Regions from separate parts of the Homo sapiens genome. Here regions 2, 3, 4 and 5 are each linked to region 1. The links are contacts of gene promoters, found by promoter capture Hi-C in blood cells and fetal thymus (Javierre and others, 2016). All regions are on one chromosome and are shown on one strand. The core of a region is centred on a gene start or on the middle of the fragment in contact, and the rest is flanking DNA. Distances in the headings are between cores, read along the strand shown. Region 1 holds the start of THYN1 (thymocyte nuclear protein 1). Region 2 overlaps IGSF9B (immunoglobulin superfamily member 9B). Region 3 overlaps IGSF9B (immunoglobulin superfamily member 9B). Region 4 has its middle 16 kb from the start of IGSF9B. Region 5 has its middle 15 kb from the start of LINC02730.

Region 1 (2,765 bases), core at 182-2,681:
CTAAGTTGTTAAATTACTATATGACAGGGCCCAAGGTCTATGTGTTACCCTAACCCTAACTCGGTTAATCTACATAACCTGTGAGATGTTCTACTCTTCATCTGGGAAGCATGCTCCAGATCACACATCCAGTAATGGTGGAATCAAGATATGAGGTCAGCACCTGTCACTGAGGTCTATCTGAAGCTACTTAATGACTATACTGCCTCTGAATTTAGTCAAAGTCCCTACATCAATTGTCATTAAATACCATTTATGGCTGTCTAATGCTCTGAACCCAGCATACCTTCCTAACCTAGTTTCCTAATGGCCCCTTAGGAGTTAACAGGCCCACTGCAAACACCACATATTGATAAATAACTGCAATGTGCTGTAGTATATCTGGAACCCCTGTCATTCCCAAAAGAGGTACTTTCTGTACCTTCCAATGTTCCTCCTCCTCCATCCACTTAGAATGCCATCCATCTTTGTGATTATAAAAACGACATCACGTTTTCTTAGTACTAAACTTTGCCCGTGGAAAGTCTCCCATTCTTCAAGGCTGGGCTCAAATTCCACATCCTTCTCGAGGCCTTCCCCGTGATTCCTCCCTCCATAAACTTAACAATCCATTTTCCTGAACCCCATCACATCTGTTTGCAGTTCACCCGCAAGCAGGCGCTTTATATTCTTTAGCACGCCACCTGGTATCTCAAAGAGTCTTTGTGCACAACAACCATTGCCTGAATAAACAAGAAAAAGGAACTGTAGGTAGGAGCTTGGTGAGACAAGTAAAGAAGATGGAGAGTGATTAAGGATAATGGAGTAAAAATATCACAAAGGGTTCTCAAAAAGCAGGGAGTGAAAAATGAGTACTAAACAGGCTCTTCGAGAAAAGTTTTTTCTTGGGCTGCCTTTGTGCAGCCTAGGGGCAGCTCACCTGAACCAGAAGTCCCAGCCAGCCTCTTCCGGGGTCTCGACATGGTCACGCTGCAGGGGACTTTAGTGCGGACGATTCTGGAATCAACGGAGATACAAGAAAGAATGCTAATGTCCTCCAAAACCCGCGCAGAGCGAGATGGAGGCAACGAGAGGCAGCCTAGAACGTCTCCAACTTTTGCGAAACACAGACGCCTACGTTTGAGCCCTCAAATCCTTCCCTCCGTTATCTGCGCCATTTCCATCTCGCATAACCTGCCCCTAAACTCTTCTCGGTTCTGTCCTTGGTCCTTCTCATCCAGGAACCCCTATCTCAGTATGTAGTTCACTGGGAAGTGGCTCCACAGAGACACTTTTGTTGGGTGAATATAAGTAAGCCTTGTGTTACCTTGTTATCCTTGCTAATTAGGATCAACTGAATGGATAATCTAGATGATGAAGTAATTTGCTGGCTACAGACCCAACACTCTGCAGACTCGACTGCGGTCCGCCTCCGCTGCGCCGCAGGCTGTGCAGCGCGACCCCCGCGGCGCTTGGTGGGCGGTGCATCTCTGCGGCGCCGAGGCCCCGAGGACTTCTGGGAATTGTAGTCCTGTCCCCTTGGGAGCCCGCCTGGCACCTGGGTTGTTAGGGCTCGTGGGAGGACTACAACCCCCAGGGTGCAGTGGGACAGGCGTTGCCGGGTCGCAGGTCCCGCCAGTGCGAGCGCAACGGAGGTCGAAGGCGTTCAGACTCTTAGCTGAACGCGGAGCTGCGGCGGCTATGCTGTGGAGCGGCTGCCGGCGTTTCGGGGCGCGCCTCGGCTGCCTGCCCGGCGGTCTCCGGGTCCTCGTCCAGACCGGCCACCGGAGCTTGACCTCCTGCATCGACCGTAAGGATCTCCTGGCGGGCAGTAGGACAGGTGTCCAGAACCCCGGCGGACATATGTCCGCGAGGGGCTGCAGTCTCCCCGTTCCATCCAGTCACCCCGGCGTCAGCTCCCCTTCCGGCCAGTCACCCCCCCGGCCTGGCTCCCTACTCCGGCCGGTCACCCCCGGCCTGGCTGCCCCCTCCGGTCGGTCACCACCATCCGGGTCCCCATCTGGCCCGTCACCCCTGCCCGGGTCCTCCTCCGGCCGGTCACCCCCGCCCCGGTCCTCCTCCGGCCGGTCACCCCCGCCCCGGTCCTCCTCCGGCCGGTCACCCCCCGCAGGTTCCCCTCCGGCCGGTCATCCCCCCGCAGGTTCCCCTCCGGCCCGGGTCCTCCTGCGGCCGGTCACCCTCGGATGCTTAGAGAAGTGAAGAAACTTGGGGCTTGGTTGTTGTTGGGTTGGTTGGTTTTTAATCATAACAGTAGGTCATAAAAGCAGTGAGAATATAAGAAGCTGGCTGGGTGCTGATGGTGACAACTGCACAAGAACTCCAGGTCATACAAGATTTGCTCACACACAAAGATTTGGTATCTTAACACCTCTGGCTATAAGACACTTTTAGTGTTGAAACTCATGCAGGAAAAATAATTATTATTGCCAGTGGGAAACTCTACCAGAGCTGACAAACTTGAGTGTCTTTAGGCTCTGAACAGTAATTTGAATGTAGCGAGGAGTGGTGGAGACCCGGCCAGTTTGTGACTTCTCTGCCAAGAATGTTTATAAACACTTTTTTCTTCTGAAATATTTTTAAATTTATTTTAAATAAATGGCAGTTTTCTTTACAACAGAATAAGTCCCTTAGATATCAGATCTATAAAGTACAGTAAGGCATAGAATACTGTTTTCTTCTGAATGTCCTAAAACTCATTCAAGAGGTGCTGCCCTGGCCTAGCGCTTAGAATTTGATAACCCAGATTACCCTGGTTGATACCGAAG
Region 2 (2,765 bases), core at 81-2,580, 350 kb before region 1:
ACCACACACACCACATACACACACACACCCCACACACACACACACACACCCCACTTACTTCCTGAATCCAGAAAAGAAACACTGGACTAGACAGCTGGCTGGGGGTTAGAGACCAGGGGGACAACCTGGTGCCTGCAGAAGGACACATGAGACAATCCCTTCTCCAGCCCTGCCAGGACACCGTCGGCCATGGCACACCTCTCGTTGTTCATGGGAGGCCATATAAAACCTCATTGATAGAGTGGCTGACAACTACCCTTTCAAGAACTGCAAGATGACCGTGAGGAGGCTCATCCCTCCACCAGAAATACAGCTTCATAGACCACTATGCCAAAAGGAGGCCAAAGCCCTGGGTTCTACCACCAGCGTGAGGAGGGCTGGGCACTCGCCCCTCCCATGGCTTATATGAAAACCCCACACGTGCATGCCCGCAGCATTTCTAAGGCCGAAAATGCAAGTCACCTCCCCAGCCCAACCCCCTGCCCTCCGAGATTCCCTGCCCCTCCCACCACCTCCCCATCGTAAACCACGCACATGTTCACGATCCCTGGAGCCATACAGAAGTGGGGAAAGGAAAAGGGAAGGGAAGCTAACTGGTGTGTATACGGGGTGGCGAGGGAGAACCTGCCCTAGTTCGCAAAATAAATCCAGGAAATCCAGTGCCACAGAGAGGTAGGATTGGTGGAGCACACTTCTTCAAGACCCGAAAGAAAGGCAGGCCCAGGCAGCCATTCACGTCCCCATCTAGTGTGATGGGAATGGTGACAACCAAGGACCAGTGACAGGAGCTGAGCATTTGAGCCACGGGGTTAAAACTGTCCAATCTAGCTCTCCCAGCCAGGGCTCCAAAGCCGGTAGCTTTTCACCAGCTCTCGTCCGAAACCCTAACTACTACTACTGTCTTCTACACCGCAGAAGACAACACCCATGTGATTTTAATGACTGGCCACTGTTCCACCAGAGTATATGGCAACCAAGATACCCAGACTCTTCCTTCTCTAAGATGTGAGCAGCCATTAATGACCCCTGTATGGATGCTTCATTTATCCTTATCCTACATGGGATCCCTCAGGGGATGGTGGTGTCTTTGGACCAAATTCAATCTACTGAGTGTTTTTCTAACAGCTTAAAATGAGGTTGAAAAAAACTTCCACCTTCTCGGCAACCCAACACACAGAACATCTGGTGGGGTTATTATACTTGCTCCTGAAAGAAGGTTTTGAGAGTACAGACAGGAACCCAGAAATAAGGCTCTGAACCAGTGTGGATTCACTCGCAGTCAGAGGGAAGGGTGGTGATTGGTACCCCTAGCCAAACAGCAAGCTGGTAAGAGTGCGAAAGTCCAATCTGGGCTTTGATCCTTGGTTTACTGACTTCTTCTAAAGAAGAGATTTTTCATTCTGCCTCTTAATCTAAAAAGAAGCAGAGCTGGAGACATTAAAGAGAGAAGAATGGCTGGTCAAGCCAAGAGTTTCAGGTGAAACTCTTTTGCCCTCCCACCTCCACCACAGACTAGTGACTTTAGCCTATCAAAAGAAGAGAAAGTAAAGAGAAGGCCTCACGAAGCCACTGTGCAACTTCATGGCCGGAAGGAAGCCTCTCTACCTCAAGAGGAAAGGGGGATGAAGGCACGTCAGGCTCCAGCTCCCCCTCTCTATCACCATCACCATCACCAAGGCCCATGAACATTTTCAGATTGTGGACGGAGAGGCAACCCACCGCTGCAGCTTAGGAAAATGAGAATGGCACTTCCTTCTCCACTGATGAAGAGCTGGTGATAGGATGGGCATCTCAAGACAAGTTTCTCAGCTTTGGGCCTGAGGAGCCCCCAAAACAAATGAAGTTGAAATACAATATAAAGAAGATGTCCATGTTTGGTTTGGGCACTTAGTGTTAGAGGCTAATTCTAGAAGAAGCAAGGAAGATCTAGCTAAGAAGCAAGACCTCTCCCAAGATCCAGTCTGCGTTCACATGCAGGACCCCACCCCACAATCCGTCCCTGATGCCCAGATCCCCCTCCCACATGCCCTGCATGGCTACCACTCCCCAGCCAGATGCCCACCAGGCAATCATTCTTCGTCATCTTGGGATGATCCCCCAGTGTGTACCCTGCACCCTTACAAGTAACTAAGTTATCACATGACTCAAAGAGATGCTGAGGCTTGGTGTCCCCTGGGGTGGTCTCACCATCCTAACCCATGCCTGACCTCACCCTCTGTGCCCCTTCCAGCCTCACCAACACCTGGCAAAGCACACAGGCCTCCCCTCCACCCTCCAGTTCTCCAACTCCCCCTCCTGAAACACCAGTGCCCCATCCATTACCCTAGTCAATCTAGAGCTGGCCAATAAGGCACCTCTTTGGCCCTCTCCCTAAAGCAACACACACAGCCACATGGGGCTCTACACACTGCCTACTAGATCCACTTTATATGAAGAAGATACCCAGGCAGGGCTGGGTTAGAAGCCCCGGTGGGAATGTGCACAGCTCCTAGAGTACCACAGAGGCTGGACTCAACAGAGCCTTCCATGACCCGCTCAGCTCCACCCTCTGCCCCTTCCTGCAGCTCCCCAGCCATCCCTGCAGTGCCCCCAAAGCTCCTTTACATGCAAGCAAAGCAAGCCCAAGATTAACCATTAGCTTTTCTTTTCCTAGGTTTCTCTACAGATTAATAAAATGTACTTTATGTACAATTCTTCCCCCACCCCACCCCCAAGCCTGGAAAAGGCTTTTGCTAACAAAATAGGAAGAAACAGATTCCAGCCAC
Region 3 (2,765 bases), core at 149-2,648, 330 kb before region 1:
AGGGCACGCGCTGTGATCCGCCGCTCCCTGGTAGGTGGTGCGCCCGCCGAGAGCTCAGGGCTTGCCGGAGAAGACGCCTCATGCTCCCGGCAGGGCACCTGGGCAGGTGGGCCCGCTGCGCCCCAGCGACTGCACCCCGCCCAAACCGCGGCGGCCAGAACTCCTCTCCGAGGGACGCCGGTGCGGCATGTCCGCACGAGCCCTGTCGCCGGGCGGATGGACGGGGTGGAGGGCAGGGCGAGGCGGGTGGGGGAAGGAAGTTGCCCAGGTGCGGGTGGCGGAAGAGGCGGCGCACTCACCCTGAAGTAGGTAACGTGGGTGGTGGGGTCTCCGGTCGGAGCAATTCCTCCCCCGTCCTTCGAGGGGAAGGCGTCTGTCCAAACACGTCCAAGCTGTCCCCAGGCCCAGCAGGGGCGGGGCCGGGTGGAGGGGAAGGGTAGCCGGTGGCCAGAGTGGTGAAGCCCATGGCGGGCCGGTAGCTGGGACTCCCACTGCGGCTGCTCTGGGAGGGGGAGCCTGTGGACGGCGTAGACTTTCGAGAAAAGCTGACTGCAGCCGGCGGCTGCAGGGTGATCTCTGACATCTCTGCCTGCTGCAGGAGGCCCGGGCGAGGCCGGGCACGGGCGGCGAGCTCAGGGGAGCCGGTGCGGGAGCTGAGGGGGCTTTGGGTCAGAGGTGAGAGCCGGGAGGGCTGTAGCACCACTTGATGTAAACTGGGCTCGGCGCGCCTGGCCTGCCGAGGGCTAGGCCGGGGCCGGGGCTGGGGCTCATACCACCGGGTGTCCAGGCCAAATGTGCTGGGGCCGCCGTGCGCCCCCGGCTCAGCCGGCTCGGGGTAAGGCAGCACAGGTATGCCCATGCCTTGGCTTGTATGTCGCAGCTGCCCTTGGCTTACCAGAGGTTGCATAGGTCTGTCCTGCCACTTGGCGGCGGGGGGCGCTGGGACAGGGCCCCTGCCGGGCGACTTGCCTGCCCAACCCTTCGGTGCCTCCAGAGACAGGATGCCCGGGTAGGCCGCGGGCACCTGCAGGGAGGTGGGGGGCAGTCCTCGGGGGAGGCCGGCCTTGGGCTGCAGACTCTCGGGCACATCACAGGGTGGCAGCTGGTGGGGGAACATCATCGCTGGGGTCTCCAGCCCCCCGAAGGGGAATTCTGGCCGGCCCCAGGGCTCAGGGGAGCGCCCTCCTGTAGGTGTCTGAGTCAAGGGCAGCGTGCTGTTGGATGCATTCTCTCCATTCTCCTCGGGGATGGTGGGGTGGCCAAAGGGCCCCTCGGTGGGCAGGGGCGGGGACGACATGACGGAGCTCAGGGGGCTGCCCACTTCTGGCACGTAGAACGGGGGCGGCTCCACCTCCCCAGGGCTGCTGCTGCTGAGGTACCCATAATACTGGCCATGGTGGAAGGGCCGGGGGGCAGGGGGCCGGGCCTGGCCTGTGGCCTGAAGCCGACCTTCCAGGCCACCGGGGCCCTCCAGCCCGCGGGGCTGGAACCGAGGGCTGTATGCTGGTGGTGGCAGGTAGGACTCCTGGCTGGATGACAGAGGGGTGAGCTGGGACTTCAGGGCGGCCACAGATGTGGGCACCAGTGGGTCCTCGTTCTCCTCGTCCGACTGGCGGAACTCGGGGTACATGTCCGTCTCCTCGGCGAAGGGGAAGCCCTCGATGCGCCTGCTCTTCAGCGAGGGCTCCATCTCGGCAGGGTCCATCACGAAGCGGCCGTCAGGGCCTCTGCTGATGAGCTCGATGGGCGTGGTGGCCTCTGCCTCGGCCTCTGCCTTGGCCACGCTGTACTTCTTGCTGCTGATGGCCCGCTTGGTCTTCTTGTACAGCGACAGCTCCTTCTCACGGGTGGGGCTCAGCATCCTCTTGGCCGCGGGCTGGCCCTGGTCGTCGGAGGATTCTGACGGCGCTCGGAGCGTGCGGATGCTCTCGGGGCTCACCTTGCCAGAGGACAAGCTGCAAGGAGGAGCAAGAGCCGGGAGGGGATGAGGTGGGGCAGTGTGCTGGCCAGGACTTCCTTTCCCTCTCTCGGCAACCACCCAGCACCCAGGATCCTCACGCTCAAGAAAACTGGCTGTGTATCGTGGTGTGAAATGCTTTGGCCAACTCTCCACCGTCTGGACGTGAATCCTCCTTTTTTTTTTAAAGACGGGGTCTTGCTATGTTGCCCAGACTGGTCTTGAACTCCTGGCCTCAAGCAATCCTCCTGCCTCAGCCTCCCAAAGTGCCAGGATTACAGGTGTGAGCCGCCGCGCCCGGCCCCCCCCATCATCCGTCTTTCCAGTGAACACCCGCCTCTTCACTTTTGTGCTGGCCTGCCCCCTCTCTGCTGTGCTCTAAGCACACCTCCAGCTTCATTCCCCTCTTTTCAAGACAAGCAAGCTCACTTTAATATCAACTTAAGCAACACATATTAAGGAGGCAAATCTGCTAGGGTGGGAAAACACTAAAGAAATACATTCCAAGGCTGAAGAGAAACTGATTACTGGCTAATTTGGATCATCTGCACTGCCACTCCCTCTACCAGCGTGGACAACTTACAATTAACACACAGGTCAATCAAGAAGAAATGGCTTAGAAACACTGAGATGGGGCTGGGCAAGTACAATTAACACACAGGTCAATCAAGAAGAAATGGCTTAGAAACACTAACATGGGGCTGGGTAAGGCGAGCGGTCTACCTATGCGCCCCCTGCCATGAACAGCACAATTCTCCCAGGATCTGAGACACTTACGGAGACTCCAGGCTCTTCCTGCAGTGGGTGA
Region 4 (2,765 bases), core at 78-2,577, 280 kb before region 1:
CCTCCACCCCAACACTCCCTGTGGGCTTTTCTCGGAGCTTGTCCTGAGCCCAGGAAAGGAAAGGAGGCTGTGCTGGGCATCAAGCACTCACATGAAGAGTCCCGGAACCTGCTGAATGAGGCTTTGCTCCGCCCACGCTGCCCCCATCTGCCCACAGGCCTGCAGCCCCTACCAAGAGCAGTGGGCCCAGCCCTCTGCATCGGCTCCTCTCCCTCTAATTACTCTTCACACACTCTGGTGCCAGGCCCTCCAACCAAATTACAATTGATTCTTCACTCCTCTTGGATCAATGCCATCGACCCTGGAGCATGGAGGACAAACCCAAACTCACCCTCTAGGAACCAATGGCCCAAGGCAAAGCCCGGCAAGAGACCTGCACGTGCAAACTTGGAATGTGCATGCACACATGTATGCACATGCACACACACACATGCATTCATCCCCTTGCCCAAGAAGCATATGGATCAGCATGCACACACAATGCACCGGGCCACATATGGGTATCCACATGTAGACACATACATAGCTTGATATAGACAGACACTTTCATGCATGTCTACATGCACGTACACAAAAAGCACACAGGCCCACTCATATGCAGGGGTACAGACGCATGCCATTGGCTAGAGAAGAGGACACTCTGAGGCTCACAGGAAGCATGCTCTGGCCAAGTGAGGAGCTGGATTCTAGCCCATCCCAGCCCCCTCCCCGGCTGCTCTCCTAGCTCCACGTGTGAGCACACCCACCATCAGTTACGGTGGGAGGGGCCCGGCATCCTGCGACACACACCTCCGAGCCAAAACTCCTCTGCCGTTGTGGAGGCCTGTGGCGTGCCCTCCCCTGCAATGGACCCTGCCCCATCATCCCTTTGGGGTGTTGGAGAAATGCCCAGCCACTTCTCCACCAGACAAAGCCCGTTATAACTCAGCTGGGCTCTCTCTACACCTCAGTCCTCAGAGGAGCTTGGAGTGCATCTGCACCTGAGGCCCCAAACCATTGGAAAGGAGGTGCCAATCCCTACAGATGCCAACACAGAATGACAGCCACCAGCTCACTCCCCTCCCACACAGAATGGGAACATGAATGGCAAGTATAGAGGAGAAAGAAGACAGAGCAGGACCAGCCATCCAATACAGCCCGAGCAGACACCCAAGGCCTCAGACTCCACTGCTCCTTTCCTTATGGTCAAATTCTCTACTCCCCGCCAATGGCCAATGGCTTCCTGCCAGGCACATCTCCAGGTTAAGTCACAGAAACACAGAATATCAGGAGAAAAGCTCTGGGAGATCCTCGAGTCCCTCCAGCCCACATTCTCTCGGTGCCCAACTCTCCTTAATGACATTCCCAGCAAGGGACTGTCCCTCACACCGAACATACCATGCCCAAGGACACCGGAGGAGCAGAGGCCTCATCACAGAGCCGGTTCTCTGCCGAACAGCTCTAGAATTCTCTCTAAAGAGAGTAAAATCTCCCTCCCCAGAATGTTCACCGGTTGGCATGAAGTGGAAGGAAAGCCATTTCAATAATAAACGGTTGGTCTGCAGCTTGTCTGAAGGAAGAGCCACTGTTTGGCATTTCTGCTCACAGTTCTCAGTGCGAGGCTCTGCAGCGCCTGAGGGTGAGACCTGGGGGTTATCTGACCCTTGGAAGAGGGTGAAGGGCACCGTGGCCTTCCCTGTGCAAAAGGAAGATCTTGAAAAAGTCAGATGTCTGTCAATCTATGGAAGAAGCCTTATTTGAGTTTTGTCTCTAATTTTGTCTACTAATTTCCCTTTACTATACTAATATATTACTAATATTCCTAGTGAGTTCTTGGCCTCCGCCTCCCCCCAGATAAGCTGCATTTGCAGGCTTACAGCAGCTGAAGATAGATGTGTATGATCTGGGGAGGACGTCTTCAGTGCTGTGCCCCATCAACACCTCAGGACTTGGCCCCAGCACTGGAATCAGAAGCCTGGCACATAAAGCCGAAGTCTCTGTCCTCATGGTCTCCATGTCCGTGGTCTGAACCTTCTCTGTGTAACCTATTTCCTGTCCTCGATCATACAGAGCTTTTCCAACCATCCCGGAGGGCTTAAGGACCAGCAACTCTGCCCCCACTCCGCTCGGGCCCCCATACCCCGCCAGTAAGAGCTGCGTGGACTGAGAGGGATTTGCCATTCGGTGATCTCTTGCAGGCCAGAGTAGTGGAGAGAAGCCTGTGGAAGACCCCTGTGGCTGGCTCGCTCATCCACCATTTCACTCCCAGCATTCCACCATCGACACCACAAGGTTGGAAAGCATTTCCCAAAACACCTTGCACTATGTTTCTGGGTGTGGATTAGATGCCACCCATCGCGCGCACTTGCACAAGATTTGGCAGACAAACGGGAGGGGGTGTTCTTCCTGCAGCCCTAGCTGTTGGTGGCTATCATGGTCATCACAGGCTTGCAGGAGTCTCCAGTGTTCATGCTTCATTTTCCAAGATTCGAAATGTTAGCCTGCACAGCCTCTCCATCTGACTGCCTGCTCCCTGAATTCCACTGTCTCTTCTCCCATCTGCAGGTCTCTAGAGGCTTCTCTGGGGCCAGTGGCAGCTCTGACGTCCAAGAGCATACCCTCGATGGTGCCTCTGAGCCATGGCTTCAGTAATTCTGTGTTGTTCTGGGAGTCGCTGTAGTAGCCTCAATCCTGAATCTGCTTCTTCTGCCCTTCCGATGATTGCGTGAGCCCCCAAATTCCTGTACGCAACCCCTTTTGGTTTGAACTACGTAGATTGGAGACTT
Region 5 (2,765 bases), core at 168-2,667, 260 kb before region 1:
AGAATGCACTCGGAGAACGCACGGACTCATGGGGGCCAACACACACCGGGGCCTGTCGGAGGTCAATGGGGTCGGGGGAGGGAGCCTATCAGGAAGAACAGCCAATGCATGCTGGGCTTCATCCCTGGGTGATTCGATGGTCTCTGCTGCAAACCTCCATGGCACACCTTTACCTGCGTAACAAACCTGCGCATCCTGCACGTGTACCCCTGAACTTAAAATAAAAATTAGAAATTTGAAAAAAGAAAGAAAAGAAAATGCATTCAGAAATGGCAGTGAGCTGGCCCGGCTGGCACGCAGGTAGACACCCACTTGCTGAGACTCGAGATATCTGCTCCTGCCTTTGATTCTGGCACTGTCTCCAGAGCTTTGTGTTAAAAATGTAAATGTTATTATTCATATGCAACCTGGGAGGAGTAAAACATTAGTATTTCCGCACTGCCATTTTATCACCCTAGTAGATCAAATACCTGAGGAGAAAAAGCCGGAATAGGGTATCTAGGAAGAAGGAGGGGAAGGAAGTCCTGGAGACAAAGATTTTTGTTTCACAATTTTGCCTGAGGCCACACCTTCGTGATGCTCTCTGGAAGGGAACACCCCAGGCAGGAAAGGATCACCAGGTGTCAATCCCAGCTGGTATCACAGTCTGCCTCAGCCTTGCCCTAGGTCATTAGGAGTCAGAAGAACCACTGTCACCCTCTCCCCCGTTTAGAGATGTTAATCTGATCACTAACCTGTCTCTGCAAAGTGTGAACATTTGTTTTTCTTAGATCAGTTGATACAAGGTTGAAATTATTCAAAGGGAATTCTTAAAATATGAGACAGAAATGCAAAAAAACAGAAAATGCAGACAACTGTTTTCTCCTAACACAGTGCATCTCTTTCTGCGGGTGCAAATGGCCCTGCTGGCTGCTGGAATTTCCATGTCCTCAGAATCTAAGACTTCTGTTCAATAAAATTGTATCAAATCCCAGGGACATGGATGAAACTGGAAACCATCATTCTGAGCAAACTATCGCAAGGACAGAAAACCAAACACCGCATGTTCTCACTCATAGGTGGGAATTGAACAATGAAAACACTTGGACACAAGAAGGGGAACCTCACACACCGGGGCCTGTCGTGGGGTTGGGGGAGTGGGGAGGGATAGCATTAGGAGATATACCTAATGTAAATGATGAGTTAATGGGTGCAGCACCCCAACATGGCACATGTATACATATGTAACAAACCTGAACCTTGTGCACATGTACCCTAAAACTTAAAGTATAATAATAATAAAATTTAAAAAAATTGTGTCAAATCCATAGGTGTTTCATTTTTTCTTCAAGTTAAGCAAGCTTTATTATGTTATAACTTATTTGCACAGAAGCGATAGACTACAATAATATAAACTGCAGTGTAGATTGTAGTCAAACTTTCTAGTATCATGTATTTTCATTTGATCTACACATTTCAATCAAGCATATCTAATATATTTGCTGAAACCACTTGGAAGCTTGGACCAGGGGCTCACGTGAACCTCAGACTGAAGTCGTAGCTTCAGTGTGGTGTTGCCACTGTGCCTTCCTGGGGTGGGGCTCCGGGAGTGTGGGGGCAGAGCCAAACTTCTGCCTGCAGCCCAGGCTGCTGGAGCCGTGGCCTGGGTGGCACCTCCCAGCTGAGGCGGGGGCTACTCTCTCTGGCCCCCAGGCATTGCAGAGACAATCACCATGAACCACGAGGACGCTTCCTTTGTCCTTCTGGAAGGGTCTGTGGCTCTCAGCCTCCTCTCGCCCCAGCCTTCTCTGTCATAGTCCTCGCTCTGTCACTAACCAGCTGTGACCAAGGGCTTTGGGATCCATACTTGGGACTGGTCTCTCTACTTCAGTGCTTTGCAGTTTGACTTTCTGCAGTGATGGAGACATTCAATATGGCAGCCACTAGCCAAGCAGAGGGGGCTTCTCAGCACTTACAACATGGCCAATGTGCCTGAGGAACTGAGGTTCGAATTCTATTTCATCGTCATTAATTTAAATGTAAAAGGCCAGACATGGTGGCTCATGCCTGTAATCCCAGCACTTTGAGAGGCTGAGGCGGGTGAATCACCTGAGGTCACGAGTTCAAGACCAGCCTGGCCAACATAGTGAAAGCCCATCTCTACTAAAAATACAAAAAGGGGTGGTGTCATGTGCCTGTAATCCCAGCTACTTGGGAGGCTGAGGCAGGAGAATTGCTTGAACCCACGAGGTGGAGATTGCAGCCAAGATCACGCCACTACGCTCCAACCTGGGCTACAGAGCAAGACTCCGTCTCAAAAAAAAAAAAATGTAAAGAAACAGATATGCTAGTGGCTACCATTCCAGACAGTGCAGCCCTGGCGAGTGGCCACATGGGCACCGCCGTCACCAGAGGCCCCTGGCGCCTGTCAGGAACCTACGCGCCAGCCCTCCAGGCTGCAGGGACATGCACCTTGGAGCTTACATTTAAAGACCTACCCAGTCTAAGAGATGCTTTCTTTTCATCATATCTGCGCAGCAGATTTATACCTTTAACCTTTAATTATAGCGTCAGCCTACGGAATGATCTGTTTCTCTCCAGGTTGGATAATGGGCTCTGCCACCACTAGGAGATCTTTACTTCTCCCTTGTGGGTGCCAGAGGGGGGTGCCACTGAGGAGAAATACCTGAGTGGAGAGGAGGAAACGCAGCCATACTGTGCAGCACCTAAATGCCAAGGAAAGGAGTTCAGGCGTGATGCCTTCAGCAGTGAAAAATCCTTGAAGA

What was found. Contacts are between HindIII fragments. The CHiCAGO score rates a contact against its expected background, and 5 or more counts as called.
Region 2: a fragment that was not itself captured here is called in contact with the fragment with the promoter of THYN1 in region 1 in 2 of 17 cell types (non-activated CD4 T cells and total CD4 T cells); the score reaches 7.4 in non-activated CD4 T cells.
Region 3: a contact is called between a fragment that was not itself captured here and the fragment with the promoter of THYN1 in region 1, in 6 of 17 cell types (non-activated CD4 T cells, activated CD4 T cells, naive CD8 T cells and 3 more). The highest score is 11.0, in non-activated CD4 T cells.
Region 4: a contact is called between a fragment that was not itself captured here and the fragment with the promoter of THYN1 in region 1, in 1 of 17 cell types (non-activated CD4 T cells). The highest score is 6.6, in non-activated CD4 T cells.
Region 5: a contact is called between a fragment that was not itself captured here and the fragment with the promoter of THYN1 in region 1, in 6 of 17 cell types (activated CD4 T cells, naive CD8 T cells, non-activated CD4 T cells and 3 more). The highest score is 8.3, in activated CD4 T cells.

Annotation. Positions count from the first base shown.
Region 1 is chr11:134,251,921-134,254,685 of GRCh38, forward strand. THYN1 (thymocyte nuclear protein 1) reads right to left here and starts at 1,432. Exons shown (of 7, transcript NM_014174.3): 1 at 920-1,432. The coding sequence starts at 962. ACAD8 (acyl-CoA dehydrogenase family member 8) reads left to right here and starts at 1,648. Exons shown (of 11, transcript NM_014384.3): 1 at 1,648-1,789. The coding sequence starts at 1,681. RefSeq lists an enhancer at 1,193-1,562. The HindIII fragment of the contact is 5,608 bases long and covers 1-2,765 here.
Region 2 is chr11:133,902,539-133,905,303 of GRCh38, forward strand. IGSF9B (immunoglobulin superfamily member 9B) reads right to left here. Exons shown (of 20, transcript NM_001277285.4): 20 at 1-2,765. Among named protein-coding and RNA genes, the nearest start is that of MIR4697, 5.3 kb to the left of the region's middle. The HindIII fragment of the contact is 7,551 bases long and covers 1-2,765 here.
Region 3 is chr11:133,919,443-133,922,207 of GRCh38, forward strand. It overlaps IGSF9B (immunoglobulin superfamily member 9B), which reads right to left. Exons shown (of 20, transcript NM_001277285.4): 17 at 2,735-2,765; 18 at 300-1,955. Among named protein-coding and RNA genes, the nearest start is that of MIR4697, 22 kb to the left of the region's middle. The HindIII fragment of the contact is 9,648 bases long and covers 1-2,765 here.
Region 4 is chr11:133,971,322-133,974,086 of GRCh38, forward strand. No RefSeq gene overlaps it. Among named protein-coding and RNA genes, the nearest start is that of IGSF9B, 16 kb to the left of the region's middle. The HindIII fragment of the contact is 9,581 bases long and covers 1-2,765 here.
Region 5 is chr11:133,991,734-133,994,498 of GRCh38, forward strand. No RefSeq gene overlaps it. Among named protein-coding and RNA genes, the nearest start is that of LINC02730, 15 kb to the right of the region's middle. RefSeq lists an enhancer at 1,902-2,402. The HindIII fragment of the contact is 158 bases long and covers 1,339-1,496 here.